Regions from separate parts of the Homo sapiens genome. Here region 2 is linked to region 1. Evidence: promoter capture Hi-C in human tissues and cell types (Jung and others, 2019). All regions are on one chromosome and are shown on one strand. The core of a region is centred on a gene start or on the middle of the fragment in contact, and the rest is flanking DNA. Distances in the headings are between cores, read along the strand shown. Region 1 holds the start of ROGDI (rogdi atypical leucine zipper). Region 2 overlaps NAGPA (N-acetylglucosamine-1-phosphodiester alpha-N-acetylglucosaminidase).

Region 1 (3,513 bases), core at 1,014-3,513:
GGAAACACCCTCCCAGGCTTGCTGTGGCCACAGATCCCCAGGGCTAGTCCCTCTCCAGGGAGGCCCCGCGGCAGGCCTGCTGCCGCCTGTCCTTGTGGCTGAGCACTAGCCAGGAGGGGCGGGGTCACCTGCTGCAGCTTCCACTGCTTGTCCTCCCGGAAGGCGAAGTGCAGCAGCTGGTTGTTCCGGGGCATCTTCAGGTTCACATCCTGACAGGCAAGAGTGGGGTGAGCTGGGCAGTGGGGGGGCACCTCCTGCCACAGCCACTCTGAGCCCTTAAGCCCAGGGCAGAAATGGGGTGTGTGGTGGTTCAGGCCTTGGCCGCTGTATAGGGCAGAGGGTCTCCCAATGCCTTGGCCGTTTGGGGGTTGAACAGGGAGGTCAGGAAACAGGAAACCAGGCCCAAGAAGAGCCACAAAGAAGTGAAATGGAAAGAGGTGAAGAAAGGGGAAGGGGAAGAGGAAAGGCAGCCTCTGTGAGGCTCTGTGCGAACGGGGTGCATCTAGTGTCTACAAAGGGCAACAGATGGAGCCCAGGAGGGGGGCCTCCCCCCACGCCTTGGTGCCTGGCACAGAGTCGGGTGCAGACTGGAGTTCAGGCATTGGCTGATTCAACTGTGATGTGTGGCCAGCCTAATCCACCAATGCCCATGTTTCACTGGTCCGGACGCCAGGCCAGGCCGTGTGCAAAGAACCCCTCTCCTGCACCTCTTACTGAATCTGCACACCGATCCCGGGAGAAGGTGTGAGGGTTGCTGTCATTTTCCAAAGGAGAAAACTGAGGCCAGAGAGATCAAGGGTCCCGCCCAGAGTCGCAGGGCTTGTACAGAGAGAAAGTGGGAGCTCCCATGCTCTTCCCCATTGGCAGGATGGGAGGGGACAGGGCCGGGGGACTCACCGCCTGGCTGAGGGCATCCCCCTGCAGAGTCAGCACACCCTTCACCTGGTCTGTGCTGTAACATGTGGCGTCAGAGCGGTGCCTGTGGTCACCCCCCCACCACCCAGCCCTCCCTCCCGGCGGGCTGCCCCTCCTGTCCCATCGCACAACCAGCTGGTCTGCAGGACAGGGCTATGGCCATGCCTCCTACCCCCCAAGGTACCCATTTCCCCGGTTTCCGCCTAGCCCAGGCTCACCCACAGCTGCCTAGGATGAAGTTCTCTTGCTTGGCGGGCCCCTCAGTGCCGGAGCCCGGCAGAGTGAAGCGCAGAGAGGCCTCCTGTGGAACAGAGGGAAGGAGGGGAGCTGGTAGCGCCCACTCAGGCCCGGCCCAGTGCTCCTTCCAGAAGCCCCCCTCCCTCCAAGTCAGCGGGGGGAAGGAACAACGTGGCCTGGCCTCACCTGGGTTCAGCTGGGGTGGGAAGACCCTGCCCAAGCCCCCAGGGCACCTAACCGTGAGCCCGATCTCTGCTTATACCACATTCCCTGAACACCTCCTGTGTGCCCGCCTCGGGGAATACAAAACAGACAGGGGCAGCCTCCCAGCTTGGTTGAGGGGGAAAGGGGCAAGGGGCAGAGTCAGGGAACAAGGCAGTAGTTATGGTAACCCGCGGTCCTGGGCCACAGCAAGCACTACGCCGGTTACTTCTGTGAGCTGCCTGGCTCATTTATCTACACCCCAGCCTCGCGAAGCGGGTACTGTTATCTCCCTTTTGCCAATGAGAAAAGGGAGGCCCAGGGAGGTTCAGTGACTTGGCTGAAGTCACACTGCCAGGCAGAGGCAGAATTCTTCGGCTCCCAGATTGGATGCCGCTGCTCCCAAGGCGGCCTTCCCCGACCCGAGGCCGGGCGGGACTCAGGCCCTTGCTAGCACCCTCGTCGGGACCCGCCCCTGCCCGCACACAGGTACTTATATAATGAGGTCGGCTCGAGTTCGCGGAGGCGGGGCCCTGCCTGAAAGCCGCGGCAGCCGCACACTGTAGGCGCTCAGGACGCAGCCGCGCGGCCCCAGGTGGAGCCAGGGAAATGAGGAGGGAGGGCCGCCACGCCCGGCGGGGCAGGGCGCGGGTCGTTACCTTGAGGATGTCCTGCAGCTGCTTCAACACAGCGTGCACCTCGTCGTGCAGCAGCCAGCGGAACTCCTCCTCCTGCGGGACAGACCCGGCGGTCGCGCCCGGCCCCGCCGCCCCGCCGGCCCGCCCGCTGGCCCGCGCGCCTTACCAGCACCGCCCGCTCCGCCGCCGTCGCTGCCATCACGGTGGCCATGGCCGCAGGCCGCCGCCGAGCGCCCTCCCCACCGGCCGCTGCTCCTGTCCACCAATCTTTCTGTCCTCGGTCCTCCGGTCCTCCCGTCCGCCCCCGGCGTCTGGCTCCGCCCCCACCCGATTGGCGGAGCGGGTACCACCCCGCCCCCAGGCCGGCTCCGTGCTCGCGATTGGCTGGCGCCTGTCGGTCCGCCTCGGCCCCCGAAACCTGCGGGAGCCCTGGAACCAGACTGGCGGCTGCGGGAGTGAGGCTCGCTCCGCCTGGCCAGGGACGCGGCCGGCGGCTGCACGAGTCAGGCTTGCTCCGGCTGGCCAGGGACGCGGCCGGCACCAGCCTGGGGCGCCCGCTTGGGGGCGGAGCTCCCGGGGCGCCCCCAGGATATGATAGGGCGCTCTGCTCCACTCGCGCTCACTCATTGGCCGGCAGGACAGTCTGTCCCCGCTCCTCCTCCCTATTGGCCCGCTTGGCTCCATTGGTCGTGGTTCCAACCCTGCCGCGGACCTCGCCGCCACTCCCAAGTCCGTCTCACCCCGGACGCGGAGGTCCCGAAAACCCACCCCGGCCCCGCCGCTGCCTTCTCCTCCCACCCATCTCGCCGAGGACGAGGGAAGCAGGACTCCTGCGGCACAGCTGTGTTACCAAGAAGTGTTTTATTTTTCTTGCAGTAGCTTTGTTAATTGCACAAAATCATGTTTTGTTTTTGCCATTTAAACATTATCACACAATCCTATTCTGAAAGACAAATGTTCATTAAAAACAAAGCAAAAATAAAAATTCACAACCTTAATTACCTAGATTTGTCATTTAAAGGTTTAAAGAAAAAAGGGAGGGGCTTTCTTACAAGCTTTTTCACAAGTGTCACATTTTCTCCTTAAAAGGGAAGGATTTCAAAAGAAAGGTGAAATAGCTTAAACAGAAATATTCATAAAAAGGAACTTTACAGAATTGTCAACAATATTAAGACAAAATTGACTAACCGGTTTCATTACCGCATCTTCCCCCGCCCCCACCCCCAGTGTGTTCCGCCAGGACTAGAACAGGCTTTGTGTTCAGACAGAAATGCTTCAAAATCCCAGTGAAATGAACTGTGCTAAAAACCCGACAGGCATCTTCCCTGCCCTCCCCCCACTCGTCTTCTGCAATCCTCTAACCCAGTTTCTAATCTCTGAAAGGGGCCAAAGCTGTGAGGGGGGAAGGACCCCGCCCTAGTGTGGCCACCCTATATATAATTACATATTGCATCGTAAATGCTGGCCTTCCTTCTGCAAATTATGATTTTGGAAAATCCAACCCATGCAGAGGGATAAAAAA
Region 2 (5,601 bases), core at 2,582-5,081, 220 kb after region 1:
ATTGACGCCAGGATGGGAACCTTTCTGGGGTCTTTCCGAATACTAAAGTTCTGTGCAGAGCACCCCAGAAGCTGAGACGTGTCACCATGGCGATGGCCCAGCATGTGGAACTCTCAGGGTTCCCAGTTGAGCTGCAGAGACTTCAGTGTGCAGTCCAAGACCACCGTGCCTGTGCCTGGGGGTCTTGAGTCACTACTGTGGGTGGGGGAGGGGACCCTTATGCTGCTGGGATCGGAGCACATGAATCCCCAGCCGGCTTGCCTGCAGTTTGATGACTTTAGCTCTTGTATATTTGTGTCCCCACCAGCACCATAGGTTGGTACTGGAATCTCAGACACTTCTGCCTCCTGCTCCATGTCCTATCTAAGGTCTGCCGTCCAAAATCTAAATGCCTGAGTCCCAAAATGTGCCTCTCCTGTAACAATACAAGTGTCACACGTTTGGGTTGCCGGAGACCCCAAAACCCAATACAAATTGCCTCAAGCAAAAAATGGGAATTTATGGGTTCATGTAATTCGGAAGTCCAAGAATGATCTGGCTGGCTTCAGGTATAGCTGGATCCAGGCATTCAAATCATGTCCCCCCACCCCCACCCCAACACCCTCAGTCTAGTCGTTTTCCACACTGGCTCACCCGCTCCATCTCTTGGTTCTGATCAGGTCTTCTCCACACTGGAGAAGAGTTGGTTTCCGTTCCTCCTCCTTGTGGCCCACCTTGGCCCACCTTGTGGCCCTCCTTGTGTCTAACCTTGGAAGTTAGACAGTCCCAGCAGAGAGAGTTTCTTCTTCCAGCTGCAGCAGAAGTTCCACGATGGGCTCTGACGGGCTGACCCGGGGCAGGTGCCTAACTCTGGACCAATCTCTCAGGCCCACCTGCAACTTGGGGTGAGAAGACAGTGCCACCCAAACCACCTGGATGGAGAATGGGGGAGAGGTACTACCCTGATAGCAACACGCTAGAGGCTCACAGCCAGGGCTCCTGGGTTTTGGGGTCTCCGGCAACCCAAAACGTGTGACACTTGTACTGTTACAGGAGAGGCACATTTTGGGGCTCAGGCATTTAGATTTTGGACGGCAGACCTTAGATAGGACGTGGAGCAGGAGGCAGAAGTGGCCACCTCCCCGGGCACTCTCATTACCATGGAAGGCTTCAGGTCACAAGATGTTGCAACTTTCCCACAGCTCCCTGTGGTTGCCAGGGCACATTCGGTCTCTGGGTAGGGCAGACTGGCACTGCCAGGGAGTCAACCCCCAGGAGCGGCCCTCAACCAATGATGAATGGGTGTTGGCTGATAAATACCCCAGCTTCCTCGCCCTTGTGTGGTGCAACCAAGACCTGTTCTACCAACTGTCCCAGAGGCCCCCAGCAGGATTGAGCCCCTGTTGCCTACAGTATAGACTTGCTCACTCCTGCACTCTGCACAGGCTGCCTTCCCTCCCTGTCCTCTACCAGTGCTTCCTGGGGCCGCCTCCCCAATAAAGTACTTGCTCTCACCTCCTTGTCTTAGTTTCTGCATCTGGGGAATCCTAGCCTAAGACAGGGCTGTTGCTAGAAGAGAGACTGGATGTCGGGCAGGCAAAGAAAATCAATAACACAATGACAAATTAAAAAGAAATTACAGGCTGGGTGCGGCAGCTCATACCTGTAATCCCAGCACTTTGGGAGGCCCAGGCGGGTGGATCACTTTAGGCCAAGGGTTCGAGACCAGCCTGGCCAACATAGTGAAACCCCGCCTCTACTAAAAATACAAAAATTAGCCAGGCATGGTGGTGCATGCCTGAAATCCCAGCTACTTGGGAGGTTGAGGCATGAGAAACGCTTGAACCCGGGAGGCAGAGGTTGCAGTGAGCCGAGGTTGCACCATTGCACTCCAGCCTGGGGAACAAAATGAGACTGTCTCAAAAAAAAAAAAAAAAAAAATTCCAGGGGCCACAGGACTCACACCGCTTGGCATGTTTGAGTCACCTGACCTGGGACCCCTCTAACTTTGCTGTGACAGGCCCTCTTCAGGTACTGCTGCCTCTGGGCCTGGATTCCAGTGCACAGGACTGTCACTTTTCCAACTTAGCCGCCAGCACAACAGAGATGTCCCCTCAGAGGTCATGGTTCTCAGGCCAAGGGTCATTTCAGGATGGTCATCATGGCCATCATCGTGGCCGTGGCGTCAGACTGAGAGTGATCCCTGTAGATTCCAGGATCTGCAGCCAGGCTTGGGAACTGCTCTTAGGAATACACCTGAATGACTCTAAGGCGCCTGACTTTGCAGCTCCTTTTTAAGAGGCAGAGCCCGTTTCCCTTCTCCCTGAATCTGAGCTGGCCTGGTGACTTGTGCAGGCGCCCACCAGGGCTGCCAGATCTTTAAAGAGAAACCAGCAAGCTGGAATTTTTGTCAATCTCTGGACTTTTTGAGATGGAGTCTTGCTCTGTTGCCCAGGCTGGAGTGCAGCGGTGCGATCTCAGTTCACTGCAACCTCCACCTTCCGGGTTCAAGCGATTCTCCTGCCTCAGCCTCCTGAGTAACTGGATTACAGGCTCCCACCACCATGCCTGTTTTGTATTTTTAGTAGAGACGGGGTTTTGCCATGTTGGCCAGGCTAGTCTCGAACTCCTGACCTCAGGTGATCCGCCCACCTCAGCCTCCCAAAGTGCTGGGATTACAGGCGTGAGCCACTGCACCCCCGCCCTTATTTATTTTAAAATCTCTTGACTTTTAAACATGGGTAACTAATTTAAATTCTATAAAAATACTGTGAGGAAAAACTAAGCCCTGGTCATTCAAATTATGGTCAGGGGCCAGGCGCAGTGGCTCGAACCTGTAATCTCAGCACTTTGGGAGGCCATGGCAGGAGGTTGACTTGAGGCCAGGAGCTTGAGACCAGCCTGGGCAACTCAGTGACACCCCTTCTCTGCAAAAAAAATTTTAAAAATTAGCTGGGCATGGTGGCATGTGCCTATAGTCCCAGCTACTTGAGAGACTGAGGTGGGAGAATCACTTGAGCCCAGGAGGTCAAAATTGCAGTGAGCCGAGATCGTGCCATTGCACTCCAGCCAGGGCAACAGAGCGAGACCCTGTTTCTAAGAAAGACAAGAAGTGTGGTCTGGGGACCTGAAGCATCAGCATCGTCAGAGAGCTTGTTGGAAACGCAGAATTGCTGGCCTCACCCCAGGCCCAAATCTGCATTTTAACAAGATCTCCTCGTGACCTGTGGCATATTAAAGTTTGATAAGCACTGGATTAAACAAGCAGGGAACAGGACTTGGCTCCAGGATGCCGTTGTGACTTCTGTTTCAGGATAAGCCACACCTGCTAAGCCCTAGCAGTGACCTAAGTCCATGATTCAGAATCCACACACCACCTGGTGGCTCCTTTTATTATATCAATTTATTCAAGTGATTAAAAAACTTCTTGGCAGCAGGATGACAAAACAGGTCTGTAAACATGATCTCATCCCCCCATCCCTTCTTCCAAGGAGCTTCCTATGACAGGAAATCGAATTCTAGTTGGCAAATCCAGTGATGAGGTCTGTAGAAAAGGGGTCCCGTGTCACAGCCAGGAAGGCAGACTCGTCCCTTTAACCCACTCCAGCCAGGGGTGCTGGCCAGGATGTGCTGTTCTGTCATGACGTGGTCACTGAGTCTGGTTCGTTGGCAGCCCCTTCCCCAGGAGGAGGGAGACTCTTTGGCAGTGCGGCAGCCCTCCCGGGGGCACGGGCTTCTCGGCAGCAGACACAGGCAGGCCAGAAGCAGGCAGCTGAGCCTCTCCAGCGAGCATGGTATTGCTAGGGTTGCAGGTGCCCTGGCAGGTGGCCAGGTGAGGGGCTGAGGCACAAGTGCTATCAGGAACTTGGCTGCCCCACAGGGGCTGAGGACACCCAGATGGTCCACGCCAGTGGCCTTGAAATTTCCCCTGCAGAAGCCAGACCGTGGGGAAACAAGCTTTCGCGACGTGCCACCCCGGGCAGCTTGAGGCTTCAGTCCTTGAAGGGGTTGTGGGCGCCCCCTGGCTGCTCCTTCTCTGCGGCCAGAGGCTCCCCGTTCATCTCCTGCAGCGGGTGGTATGCATAGTCCCCATGCAGGCGCCGGTTCCTCTCTGCTCTGGACAGGAGCAAGGACAGGTTTGCTGCAGTGCTGATCAGCAGGAGGAAGGCCAGCGCCAGGGTGAGGGCTAGCCAGGCGGTCCTGCAGACAGGAGAGAAGCCCCAAGTGGGGGACTGCTGGGTGGGCTCAGGGCTTGGGTAGCACTGGAGGGGCTTCCCTCTACCCGGCATAGATAGCACTAAATCAGGTGCCTCCAGGGACCACACAGGGAATGTTATGAGCAAAATGGACTAGGTGGGGATGGGGCAACATTTAAGACATGTGCAGGGAACAGCAGAGGCAGTCATGACGTACAATGCAGGTCCGTGCTGCCCCATCTCCTGATTTTTTTTTTTTTTTTTTGAGACAGAGTCTCGCCCTGTCATCCAGGCTGGAGTGCAGTGGCATGATCTCAGCTCACTGCAATCTCCGCCTCCTGGCTTCAAACGATTCCCCTGCCTTGGACTCCCGAGTAGCTGGGACTACAGGCTCGAATCACCACGCCTGGCTAATTTTCGTATTTTCAGTAGAGACCAGGTTTCACCATGTTGGCCAGGCTGGTCTTGAACTCCTGACCTCAAGTGATCCACCTGCCTCGGCCTCCCAAAGTGCTAGGATTACAGGCGTGAGCCACCACGCCTGGCCTGATATTTTAAGAGAAGCCATTAAAAAGGTTTTTAAGGCTGGGCGTGGTGCTCATGCCTGCAATCCCAGCACTTTGTGAGGCTTAGGCGGGCGTATCACTTGAGGTCAGGAGTTCAAGACCAGCCTGGCCAACATGGCGAAATCCTGTCTCTACTAAAAATATGAAAATTAGCCGGGCACCTGTAATCCCAGCTACTCAGGAGACTGAGGCAGGAGAATTGCCTGAACCCAGGAGGCGGAGGTTGTGGTGAGCTGAGATCGCACCACTGCACTCCAGCCTAGGCAACAGAGTGAGACCCCGTCTCAAAAAAAAAAGTTTAAAAAAATGTGAATGTTACTGATTTTTAGATGCTGCTGATATATTTTAACTTTTTAAAAATTATGTAAGCCAAATAAAACACAGCTGGATGCTGGGCATGGGGGCTGGGAGGCCAAGGTGGGAGGATCACTTGAGCCCAGGACTGTGCACCTCGTCTGTGCAAAATAGTGAGATCCTATCTCTAAAAAACAGTAAGAAATAAAATTAGCCGGGCATGGGGGCACGTGCCTGTCGTCCTAGCTACTTGGGAGGCTGAGGCGGGAGGATCGCAGTGAGCTGACTGTACTACAGCACTTCTGCCTGGGTGACAGAATGAGGAAACCTCCTGCCCCCACCCTGGGATCTCATCTAGCCCAGTTTGCATTCTGAGCTCCAGTGGGGGATGCTGACAACAGAGGCTGGGCACTCGAAGGCCCTGGGCTCTGCTCCAGGGTCCCCAAAGCAGACAGTGGGGAGAGCTGGTCCCGCTTCCTCTAAGGCAGGGAGCTGGCAGGGGACAAGGGCAGAGATGGACCTCACAGGGGAAGGGTGCGGGAGAGAAGGGGGATTCCTCCCGCCCT

The links. The method cuts DNA at HindIII sites, captures the fragments that hold promoters and counts their contacts. A contact is called where the count stands out against the background at its distance.
Region 2: a fragment that was not itself captured here is called in contact with the fragment with the promoter of ROGDI in region 1 in 1 of the 25 tissues and cell types used here (hippocampus).

The regions. Positions count from the first base shown.
Region 1 is chr16:4,800,370-4,803,882 of GRCh38, forward strand. ROGDI (rogdi atypical leucine zipper) reads right to left here and starts at 2,264. Exons shown (of 11, transcript NM_024589.3): 1 at 2,158-2,264; 2 at 2,013-2,084; 3 at 1,134-1,216; 4 at 898-952; 5 at 129-209. The coding sequence starts at 2,202. It overlaps GLYR1 (glyoxylate reductase 1 homolog), which reads right to left. Exons shown (of 16, transcript NM_032569.4): 16 at 2,834-3,513. RefSeq lists an enhancer at 1,772-2,272 and silencers at 1,778-1,837, 1,878-2,667, 2,560-2,771. The HindIII fragment of the contact is 9,245 bases long and covers 1-3,513 here.
Region 2 is chr16:5,021,507-5,027,107 of GRCh38, forward strand. It overlaps NAGPA (N-acetylglucosamine-1-phosphodiester alpha-N-acetylglucosaminidase), which reads right to left. Exons shown (of 10, transcript NM_016256.4): 10 at 3,338-4,179. The coding sequence ends at 3,972. Among named protein-coding and RNA genes, the nearest start is that of NAGPA-AS1, 9.4 kb to the right of the region's middle. RefSeq lists a silencer at 3,902-4,196. The HindIII fragment of the contact is 7,059 bases long and covers 303-5,601 here.